Regions from separate parts of the Homo sapiens genome. Here region 2 is linked to region 1. The links are contacts of gene promoters, found by promoter capture Hi-C in human tissues and cell types (Jung and others, 2019). All regions are on one chromosome and are shown on one strand. The core of a region is centred on a gene start or on the middle of the fragment in contact, and the rest is flanking DNA. Distances in the headings are between cores, read along the strand shown.

The links. The method cuts DNA at HindIII sites, captures the fragments that hold promoters and counts their contacts. A contact is called where the count stands out against the background at its distance.
Region 2: a fragment that was not itself captured here is called in contact with the fragment with the promoter of DRGX in region 1 in 2 of the 25 tissues and cell types used here (pancreas and spleen).

Annotation. Positions count from the first base shown.
Region 1 is chr10:49,393,496-49,399,325 of GRCh38, forward strand. DRGX (dorsal root ganglia homeobox) reads right to left here and starts at 2,594. Exons shown (of 7, transcript NM_001276451.2): 1 at 2,440-2,594; 2 at 1,912-2,026. The coding sequence starts at 1,945. RefSeq lists a silencer at 4,609-4,768. The HindIII fragment of the contact is 28,897 bases long and covers 1-5,830 here.
Region 2 is chr10:49,445,693-49,451,522 of GRCh38, forward strand. It overlaps a transcript of ERCC6 not described here. Among named protein-coding and RNA genes, the nearest start is that of DRGX, 53 kb to the left of the region's middle. The HindIII fragment of the contact is 5,638 bases long and covers 11-5,648 here.

The sequences.
Region 1 (5,830 bases), core at 1,344-3,843:
ATGTAACATCAGCAAAATTATCTGAGAAGTAAGATTATGAGCCTTTCTTTCTTTTCTCCCTTATGCCTATCTAGATTAACAAAAAATTAAAATAAAAAAGATGATAGGCTATAATTATGTCATATTCCAAGGGTCTGTTCTCAACTTTTCCATTTGCGGGAGATCCCTTTCACCCAGCAACACTAAACTAAACTAAATTACTCCTTTCTGCAAAACTGGCATAGAATCACATCTACAAAGGGATGAAAGGCTCTTAAAGACCCATCTCCTTTTCTTCTGGTTATATCACAGAGTCAGCACTGAGGTGGGATGTGCCCAGGGTGTGGGGAGCACAGTAAGCCAGCTGAGCTGGGCTGAGAGCTGGGGTCACCGCAGGCCAGGCCAGGACTCTCCCTAACTCACTGCTGCAGTCCACCCCGCAGACAGACATTCATGACGTCCCCTACCTGCCAAATGCCCAAACTTCTGCCTTACCCACTTTGACCAGAAGGGTGGGACACTGGCTGGCAATTAGTCCAGACCCCTGGTTCAGATGCACAGAGAAGGCACCCTTAACATACAGAAAGTCTCCCTCATCCCCTAGGGTACACTGTCAGGGGATGCACGTCTCCCACCCTTCCATAAAACCCACCCTGCATGGGAACTTGGGGATAAAATGTGAAATGCAGGCAAATGTGTGGCCTTCCCTTCCTAGGAATGCTGACAGAGCTAGCAGGGCTTAAACACTGGTCCTCATTAGCCTCCTTTAGAAAATCCTATTGGACTCTTAAGAGCTTTTATGAGAAAAACAAAAACAAACTTTCTGAGGCTCAGCCACTGCTCAGGGCAGCCTGCAGCAAGACTGACAAGCATCACCTGAAGTCTCAGGTCTCCTAGCGCCTCACAACATATACCCTGCCCCTTGTCTCCCACAACTACTTGGCTTCCCAAATTCTCCCACCACAATAATAAATCAAACGAGTAGGTTGCCAAATGCCAGTCCGACGGTTACAAAAGTCCCAATACCCCAGTGCTGAGACTGCTGCTCTGCAGAAGGCCCCATTAAAGCCCACAGTGTGGCATTGGCTCACCTGATGGCTACTAATTGGCCCCCTGATGTGAAGACCCCATCCTTGGATCCCTCGGGTCCTGAGCAGGGGCATGCTGAGGTCCCAACTGTCCCCTTCTCACCAACCCACGCCCCCACTAACAACTGGGTGCAGAAGCCAGACTGGGGATCCTGAGGGGAAATTTCTTCTCAGGCCTGGAGACACTCAAAGATGGAAATTCTGGCCTGGGGAGTGGGGAGTGGTCGACATTTAGGGTTAGTGAGTCACAGAGAAGGAGCCATGCTAGGTCAGTCCGGGCAGGTGGTGGGCAGGGCCACCTGGTTCCAGGGACGGCCAGGAGGCCGGGAAGGGAATTGAGCTGCCCAGAATCCAGGGCGGAAGAGGCCCCTGCAGTGTTCTCGCCAGCGGCCCCAGTGAGAGCAGCCCAGCGACGGGCCCTTGTAGGCTCGTGCAGCTCGTGATCTGGGCCAGGACGCGGCGGGTCCACTCGCCTTTGCTTTCTGGGATGTTTGCAGAAGCACCGTGAAAGATTGATGCGGCCCCCTGGGTTGCGGAGCCCCAATTAGAGGCGTGACACCAGCATCTGTGCTGGGAGGATTCGGCCGGTCCCCGCGGCACGCCTAGCCCGGGGCGTCCTGGCCCAGGCGGGGAGGGAGCTGGGAGGCAGGTGGCGACGGGGCGGGGAGCTGGAGCGGGCCTGGAGTGGGGTGTAGGGAGGGGTCCAGGGAGGCCCCTACTCACCGGCAGGCGGCTGCGCCCCCCGCAGGGCGGGGACCCAGCCACCCACCAGCCCTGCTGCCGCTCCGGCCCTTTCTGGCCGGCTCTGGCTTCATGGAGACCCTGGGGCGCAGCGCTTACTTACCCTCTAGCTGTGGCGGGCAGTGGAAATAAAACATCGCCGGCTGTCAGATCGGCTGGACGGCCGAGACCTGGGAGGGTGGCAGCAGAACGGACCCGCGCGCGTTGCTCCTGCCTGGCTGCAAAGCAAACAGCGATAGAGCTTCAAGTCTCCCTCTGCCAGCGCTCCCGCCCAGCCCTAGGGCGCACCCGGCGCTCCCCTCCTGGAAAGTCCCTCCCAACGCCCTCATCTCACTGCGGGGGACAGGAGGGAAGGCGGCAGCCCCGTCGCAAGCAGCAACCCCACAGGGCAGTCCTTCGGGTGTGTCCACCTCCCGGACGGCCGTGCCCTCACCCTGGCCCCAGCACCAAACCCCGCAGCGTAGTTTCTGGCTCTCTGGGGTCCCAGCCAGAAGCCCTGCACCCGGGCCACCGCAGCCAGGTCCGGCTAGCGCGCAAGGCCATCTGCGAGCTGCAGCTCAGGCCAGGAAGGCAGCCGAGCCCCAAGGCCCGGCGCTCGGGGCCCGGCGAGTGGGTCAGGAGCCGAGCATACCTCGGCGGGCGGCGGTCGAGGAGGTCGGAGCGTGACCGCCTCCGATCCGCAAGCCCTGCTCGGCTGGCGGCGGGCGGGGCTCGGCGCGGCTGGCGCCCGCAGGACCAAAGAAGTGACTCGGGAAGTGGCCAGATGTCTTGCTGTCTGTCTGCAGCGCGCGCCGCCGCTCAGCACTCGCCTTTATAATCTCACGCATAATTGGCCTTAATCTGATTATTTCCAGCGCTGTCTACAGCGAGTAACTTGGATAGGTCTATTGGGCCTTACAAATGGCCCACGTGGTGTTAAAAAAAAAATCCGTCATTTCTCAGCAAACATCAGGAATGCTTTTTCCTCTTTTAAAAGAGAACGATACAACCACCACCACCATCACCCCCAAAAACATACATTTTCCGAAAACACACTAGGCCCCACCCCCCACCTCATGTCCCCTCAGAGGCAAACCTTTCTCCGAGAGAGCCTGGTTTGGGCTGCCCTTATCAAAGGCCTGGTGACTCCCGGGCTGCAAATTGGCAAAGCGCTGCTAATTGTCGCCGCCGGATGGGTTTTGGGGGGACTCTTTGCACACGGCTTCCCTTTCCAAACGATCGTACAAAAGGAAAGTTTGATTTTGTTCTCAGCAAGGGGTCCCTGAATTTATGTTCGCTTCTCGATGCAAATGATATGCGGTGGGACCCTTTGCAATTACTTTTAAAATGCATCCGAGGCAGACACTCAACGGAGAGAGACCGCCCTTCTCTCTGCCTGGGTGAAAATTAAACTCTAAAGTACCGGGCTGAAATTTTCAAGTCAGGGGCGCGGGATTGGATCAAATCACATAAACTGCAAAAAAAGCAAGTCTAATGGCGCATAATTGGTTCTGTAATAGCATTACACCAGGATAATAGCCCGTTACGGCCCCCTGCACTATTAAGTGCTTCCCTGGCGGAAAGCCTTTATGATATTAAAGGGGGAATATAATGATATTTTGGTTATTAAATGCGTGTAATTAATTTATGCACCACTGAAAATAAAGTTGGTATTATGACCCACTCAAGATGCATCAGAAGATGCAAGTCAGACAACTGTTGATAAGTTCTGGTGTCTGTGCTCCGTCTAGACTGCTGATTTTATTTTGGGACGATGGCTTCTTGGACAGACTACATAAATTGAATATTTTATAAACATTCTAATGCTGCGTTAGGGAGCCTTGGCGAGGTGGTGGGTCGGGTCCCTGCACGGCCCGGGATACAGCCTTGATCTTAAAGACGCAGCGCTTTGGAAACAAAAGGCCTGGCAGGCCCGCCGCTGGACACCAGCGCTGGGCAAGGAGCATCGAGCTGCAGGACAGAGCGCTGGGTCCCGGCCGCCGTTGACGCCCCTCCGAAAACAGCCGGGAGGAAGACCAGTCCCGCTCCGGTCGAGGCAAGTCAGGATCTATTCCAGTGAAGCGGCCCTTCCTGGGCTCAGTCGCTCCAGAGCAGAGTCTGCTCTGCCTCGGGGAAAGAATCACAGGAAACTTCCGCTCGTTTCAGAGCGGAGAGAGCTCGGGGCGCCATTTCCGCCAGGGCCACCGACTCCGAGAGTCCAGGCAGCCGGCCCGGGAGGAGCGGCTAGCAGGTCCCGAAGGCGGGTGAGGTGGCAGGCAGGGGCCGGCAGGGCAGCCGAGGGCCTTTCCTACGTCATGCCAAGAGGGCTGGGAGCCCCTAGAGCTGATCCTCCCTTAGCCCAGGTCAAGAGACTGGCTCGCGCGCGCTGTCTCTCTCCCTGTCTCCCTCAGAGGGCCCCTGCTCTCTGGAGCTCTTGACAAGAGCCCGAGGCTCCTCTTGCCGCCTAGGTCTGCCGAAAGTCCCCTCGGGTTCCCTCCTGCCCTAGGCAGCAGTTCCCTGCCTGTGCGCTTTGGGAACCCGGTGGCCGTGAAGTGAGGTGCGGACAGCTTCTGGGCCGCCTCGGCCAAGATGCTCAGGCGCACCTGGGGGTGTGTGCGGGAACCCTCAGCGGCAGCAGCCCAGCCCGGGGTGCAGTGTTGGCCCCAGAAACCAATGAGGTCCAAACGCCAGTCTCAGTTCCCCATCCCTGACATCGACCGAGGCAAGTTCCTATTAAGGCCCAGAGATGACCCCGGGACGAGACAGGCTCATCCGGCGCGGATGAGACAGGCTCAGACCTGCGCGGTCTGAGGACGGCGCGCTCGCCGAGCAACCCGGCAGGTCAGAACCCTGGACAGCGGCGCCGGTTTCCGCACCCCCACCCACCCCCGGCTGCTGCGGAGAAAGAAGCCGTACCGGGGGCCCAGCCGGGGCCCCTCGCTGCTCAGGGGTGGGATCCGCCCGGCCGGACCCCAGGCGTCCGGGGACCGACCCCAATCCTCTCCCAGTCCAAACCTGCGAAAGTTACTCCGGACATGCGCTCAGCGCTGGCAACAGAGACAAAACTCCCTTCTCCGCAGTACCACGCGCCGCTCCTACCCGGCCGCTGCAGCCGGAAACCATCTCGCGGCCCCCGAGGAGAGTCCGGCCGCCTCACTGACTAGATAACCAGCCGAGCTCCCTCAACACACCCACCTCGCGGGGGCTCTAAGCCGGCTTGGGACCCTCGGCCTCGCCTCGCCCGGCGCTCCTCTCCCGGAGCCGCTAGGCTGGGCTCCTTCCCGTTGGCAAAACAGCGAGTAAACAAACAACCAAACAACCTTAGAAACGAAAGGCTGCACCAAACTTTGATGACGCCAGCCCCCTTTTTTTCCGAATGTCTCGACACCCGGGAGAAGGTGACTAATAGGTGTTCGCTACGGTCCCCCTCCCCCTAAAAAAGGGCGTTAGTAACGAAAAGGTTATTTTTCCTTAATTTTTGTGCGGTAAAATGTATTTTCCAATTAACCAAATTCGCCGATCTGTCTCGCTTGGACACTCTGATAATTTACAACCTAAAAGTGTACTTTCTTTATCTAAAGACCAAGGTGACTGCTTTTAATTTTCTCTAACCTCTTTACACTTGATGTTCACCAGACTCATAATGTTAATTGGCTTCATATACGGATCATCAGTTTAATGAAGAAATAAATCCTGTGTTGCTTTATGTTTTAACAGTGATTGCTTTAATGAGGAATGTGACGTGTTCCAAAATCAAAGCTGCAGGAGACATTAGAGGGGCTTCCACTAGGACAGAAATGCTTATTTAAAGTTAAAACCGCGGGGTCATATTTCAGCAGATTCACAGTCCTCCCCACCCCCTCCCCCGCTCCCCGCCCTCACCTAGCCTGCCTCCCGCCTCTGTAGGGAGACAATCCTGGGTCCTCAGTGCCCCTTCTCTCCGCATCTCATACCCGCAGCCACAGCATCTGCATTCCCGAGAATCATTTCCTGGTTGCTACATAGGGTGTGCTACTTTGCCTCCTGTCCCATAGGGAAGAGAG
Region 2 (5,830 bases), core at 1,580-4,079, 52 kb after region 1:
CGACATAGCTGAGATCTTAGCAAAGTCAAGTGCCAGGGGCTACAAACGAGAAAGAAACTATAAATAGAGTGGTCCATATTCCCTGAAAAGTGCTGTTCCTGAAATACAGAAGTTTGGATTTAACACCAAGGCATGGGTAGCAGACAAAAATATGGGCTTGCTTTAGAAAAAGAATCAGAACTGAGACCCCCTCATACAGGTATGGCCTCAGAAAAACAGTGGGCTAGAATATTAATAGAATCTACCTCCCGCTACAGAGAAGCTTTGCTGTTTGAGCTGGATTCTTAGTGGGGGACTTATCCTCCCTCATATCTCACCCCACCTCTACACTCAGACAATTCATAACTATAAGTTCACATGAGTTTGAAGTCCAAACTTACATTACCACAAGATCCAAAATATTGAAAGTTAAGAAATTAACAGAAAAAATTGGTCCCAGGCTGATAATAACCATCAGATGCAAGCACATACAAAAACCATGCTGGTGAGAAAGCCCCTTTGAAGATGACTCACCCATCTTTACACACAAAAACGTCACACACACACACACACACACACACACACACCCCCCAATTTACTGTGAGGGAGAGCCAGCAGACACCACAAAGAGCAGGATCAACAGCAAGACCTCCAGCCAGTGCAGTAATCTGATGGAGTCTATGAAACAGTGGTGTTTAAAATTATTATAGCCACAAGAAGAAAAAATAAGAAAAAAGCATTGTAAGACAAAATTGGGAAGCTTAGAGGGGAGGAAGAAACAATTTTAGAAATAAACATTATGATTATAAAATTAAAAATTCAGGCTGGGCACAGTGCCTCATACATGTAATCCCAGTGCTTTGGGAGGCCAAAGCAGGAGGATCACTTGAGCCAAGAGTTCAAGACTGGCCTGGGTGACACAGCGAGACTCTGTCTCTCTGAAAAAATTTTCAAACTTCAGCCAGGTGTGGTGGCATCTGCCTGTAGCCCCAGCCTCTTGGGAGGCTGAGGCGGGAGGATCACTTGAGCCCAAGAGTTCGAGGTTGCAGTGAGCTATGGTCAAAAGTTTGCAGTGAGCTATGATCTGAGCTATGATCGTGCCACTGCACTTCAACCTGGGCAAAAGTGAAACTATGTCTCAAAAAATAATAATAAAAATTCAATGGATAGCTTAACCAGAAAGTTAGAAATAAAAAGTTCCAGAAGGGTGAAAGCAAATGAGGAGAGGCAGTATTCAAAGAAATAATGGCTACAGTCTTCCAGAACTGTTGAAGGACATGAATCCTTAAATTCAGGAAGCACAGGCTCCATACAGGATAAAAATAAATCCACATATCTCTGAGGACTGAACCAGAAGGGGAAAAACACCCATAAATCAGAGTGAAACTGCAGAACACCAATGACAAACAGATGATAACCACAAAGGAATAACTTTGAAAAATTTATGTGGAAAAAAGACACATAAATCATAATGAAACTGCAGAACACCAATGACAAACAGATGATATCCACAAAGGAACAACTTTTAAAACAGACAAAATAAACAATTTTCTAGAAAAATCTTACCAAAATAGACTGAAAGCAATATTGAACACCTGAAGATATTTTTTAAAGTGTACAAATCAGCAGCCTTTAGTACATTCACAATGTTGTGCGATCACCACTTCCATCTGGTTCCAAAGCACTTTCATCACCCCATAAAAGAACCCTATACCCATTAAGAAATCACTCCCCAGCTGGGCGTGGTGGCTCACGCCTGTAATCCCAGCACTTTGGGAGGCCGAGGCGGGCAGATCACAAGGTCAGGAGATCGAGACCATCCTGGTTAATATGGTGAAACCCCATCTCTACTAAAAAAATACAAAAAAAATTAGCCGGGCATAGTGGCGGGCACCTGTAGTCCCAGCTACTTGGGAGGCTGAGGCAGGAGGCCGAGGCAGGAGAATGGCGTGAACCTGGGAGGTGGAGCTTGCAGTGAGCCAAGATCGTGCCACTGCACTCCAGCCTGGGCAGCAGAGCAAGACTGTCTCAAAAAAAAAAAAAGAAAGAAAGAAATCACTCCCCATCCCCCTCCCCACCCCAGCCTCTCACAACCATTCATCTGCTTTCTGTCTATAGAATTCCCTGTTCTGTGTATTTTATATAAATGGTATCATACAATATATGTTATCTTCTGTGTCATCCTTGTTGCATCAGTACTTCATCCCTTTTGTGGCTGAGTAATATTCCACTGTGTAGATAGACCACATTTTGTTTATCTATTCATCTGTCAATGGACGCTTCAACTGTGTCCACATTTTGACCATTGTGAATAGTGCTACTATGAATATTCACATACAAGTATTTGTTTGAGCACCAGTTTTCAGTTTGTGGAATATTCCACAAAGTATAATTGTTGGATCATATGGTAATTGTATGTTTAACTTTTTGAGGAAACACCAAACTATTTTTCACAGTGGTTGCACCATTTTACATTCTCACCAGCAATGTATAAAGGTTTGCTTATCCATGTCCTTGTCAACATTTGTTATTGAGTTTTAAAAAAATTATTATAGTCATGCTAGTGACTGTGAAGTGGTACCTCATCACAGTTTTGACTTGCCTTTCCCTAAAGACTAATGATGTCAAGCATCTTTTCATGTGCTTTTTGGCCATTTGTATATCTTCTTTGGGAAATGTCTATTCAGATTCTTCAAGCATTTTTAATTGGGTTGTCTTTTTGTTAAGCTCCCAATTTATCTTGCACCTTATGTTAATTATTTATTAACAACTGTACTGAGATATAATTCATATACCATATAACTCATTTATTTCAGTAGTACAATTCAGTAGCTTTTAGTATACTCAAAGATACATGCAACCATCACCACCTCAATTTTACATTTTCATCATCTGAAAACCTAAAAATCACCTCCAAACCCCCAACTTTTTAACTATTGTCCCCACTTATGACCCTTTAAGCAACCTACTTACCACTCTTTCTTTAAGCAACCACTAACCTACTTCCTGTTTCTATAGATTTCCCTATTCTGGACTTTTATATGGATGGGATCATAGCATGTGGTCTTTCATGACTTTTTCACTTAGCAGGAAATTTTAGAGGTTCATCAGTGTTATAGCATGTATCAGTGTATCCGTCCTTCATTGCTTTTTGGGGCTGAATAATATTCCATTGTATAGATATACTGCATTTTAAAATCCATTCACCTATTGATGTATATTTGAGCTGTTTCCACTTTTTGGCTATTACGAACAATGCTGCTAGAGATTCATTTACAAGTTTCTGTGTGGACATAAGTCTTCATTTCACTTGGTTATATACCTAGGAGAGGAATTTCTAGGTCATAGGCTAGCTCTGTGTTTAATCATTTGAGAAATTGCAACTGTTTTCTAAAGTGGCTGCACCATTTTACATTCTCACCAGCAGTATCTGTGGCTTCCAATCTCTCTACAATCTCTTGTCAACACTTGTTACTATCTTTTTTATTTTAGCCAACTTAGTGGGTGTGAAGTGATATCTCATTGTGGTTTTGCTTTGCATTTCCCTGATGACTAATGATGTCAAGCATCTTTTCATGTGCTTATTGGCCATTTTTATATATTTGGGAAAATGTCTAATCAGATCCTTTGTCCATTTTTAAAGTTATTTCTGAGTCTTTATTAGATATGATTCACAAATATTTTCTCCAATTCTGTAGGTTGTCTTTTCCCTTTCTTGATGGTATCCTTCAAAGCACAAAAGCTTTAAATTTCAATGAAGTCCAAATTCTCTTCTTTTGCTGCTTGTGTTTTTAATGTCATATCTTAGAATGCTTGCCAAGCCCAAGTTCATGAAGATTTACCCATTTTCTTCTAAGAGTTTTATAGGTTTTGCTTTGATAGTTAGGTCTTTTTTTTTTTTTTTTTTTTTTTTTTGAGACAGAGTCTCACTCTGTCACCCAGGCTGGAACGCAGTGGCACAATCTCGGCTCCTGGGTTCAAGTGATCCTTCTGCCTCAGCCTCCCAAGTAGCTGGGACTACAGGTGCACGCCACCACGCCCAGCTAATTTTTGTATTTTTAGTAGAGACAGGGTTTCACCATATTGACCAGGCTGCTCTCAAACTCCTGACCTTATGATCTGCCCACCTCAGCCTCCCAAAGTGTTAGGATTACAGGCGTGAGCCACCGCGCCTGGCCTCTTTCATCTATTTTAACTTGTTTTCTTTTTTCTTTTTTTTGAGATAGGGTCTTGCTCTGTCACCCAGGCTGGAGTACAGTGGCATGCTCATGGATCACTACAACCTTGACCTCCTGGGCTCAAGTGATCCTCTCACCATAGCCTCCTGAGTAGCTGGGACTACAGATGCACATGACCATGACCAGCTAACTTGTTTTTTCTGTAGAGACATGACTTTGCCATGTTGCCCAGGCTGGTCTGAAACTCCTGGACTCAAGCAATCTGCCCCTTTGCCTCCCAAAGTGCTAAGACTACAGGCATGGGCCGTCATACCCAGCCAACTTTTTAAATATAATGTAAGGTAAGTGTCCAACTTCATTCTTTTGCACGTGACTATCCACTTGTCCCAGCACCATTTGTTGAAAAGACTGTTCTTTCCCCACTGAATGGACTTGGCACCTTTACTGAAAATCAGTTGACTACAGATGTTTGCATTTATTTCTGGAATCACCATTTTTTAAAAAAATACAATGATCTATGTCTACCCTTGTGCCAGTAACACACTTCTTAATTACTATTGTTTTGTAATTCAAAATGAAGAAATGTGGGTTTTTCTACTTTATTCTTTTTCAGGATTTCTTTGGCTATTCTGGGTCCCTTGAAATTTCATATAACTCTTAGCATCAGCTTGTCAATTTCTGCAAAGATGTCAGCAGAGATTCTGACAGGGATTATGCTGAATCTGCAGACAAGTTTGAGGAATATTGTCATCTTAACAGCATTAACTCTTCTGATCCATGAACATGGCATGTTTTTCCATTTATTTAGGTCTTCTTTAATTACTTTCTGCAATGTTTTGTAGTTTTCAGAGTGTAAGTTTTGCACTTTTTGTTAAATATGTTATTAAGCACCTTATTCTTTTTGATGCTATTATGAATATTCTTAATTTCATTTTTGATTATTCATTGCAAGTGTGTAGAAATACGATTTTTTTTTTTTTGAGATGGAGTCTCGCTTTGTCACCCAGGCTGGAGTGCGGTGGCACAATCTTGGCTCACTGCAAGCTCCGCCTCCCAGGTTCATGCCATTCTCCTGCCTCAGCCTCCCAAGTAGCTGGGACTACAGGCACCCGCCACCACGCCTGGCTAATTTTTTGTATTTTTAGTGGAGACAGGGTTTCACCGTGTTAGCCAGGATGGTCTTGATCTCCTGACCTCATGATCCACCTGCCTCGGCCTCCCAAAGTGCTGGGATTACAGGCGTGAGCCACCATGCCCGGCCCAACTGATTTTTAAATACTGATGTTGTATCCTCCCATCTTGCTGAACTCACTTATTAGTTTCAATAGTTTTTTTTTTTTTTTTTGGTGGATTCCCTAGAATCTTCTACATACAAGATCATGTCATTTGTGAACAGTCTTTCTTCTTCCTTTCCAACCTTTATTTTCTTCTTGCATAATTGCAATGGCTTAGACCCTCCAGTACAATGTTAAATAGAAGTGTGATAATGGGCATCCTTGTCTTATTTCTAATCTCAGTGGGAAAGCATTCAGTTTTTCACCATTAAGTATAAAGAAAGCTGTAGATTTTTCATAGATGTTCTTTATCAGGTTAAGGTAGTTTCCTTCCGTTCCTCGTTTTTCAAACATTTTTATGATGAAAGGGTGTTGGATTTATTCAAATGCAGCTATTTT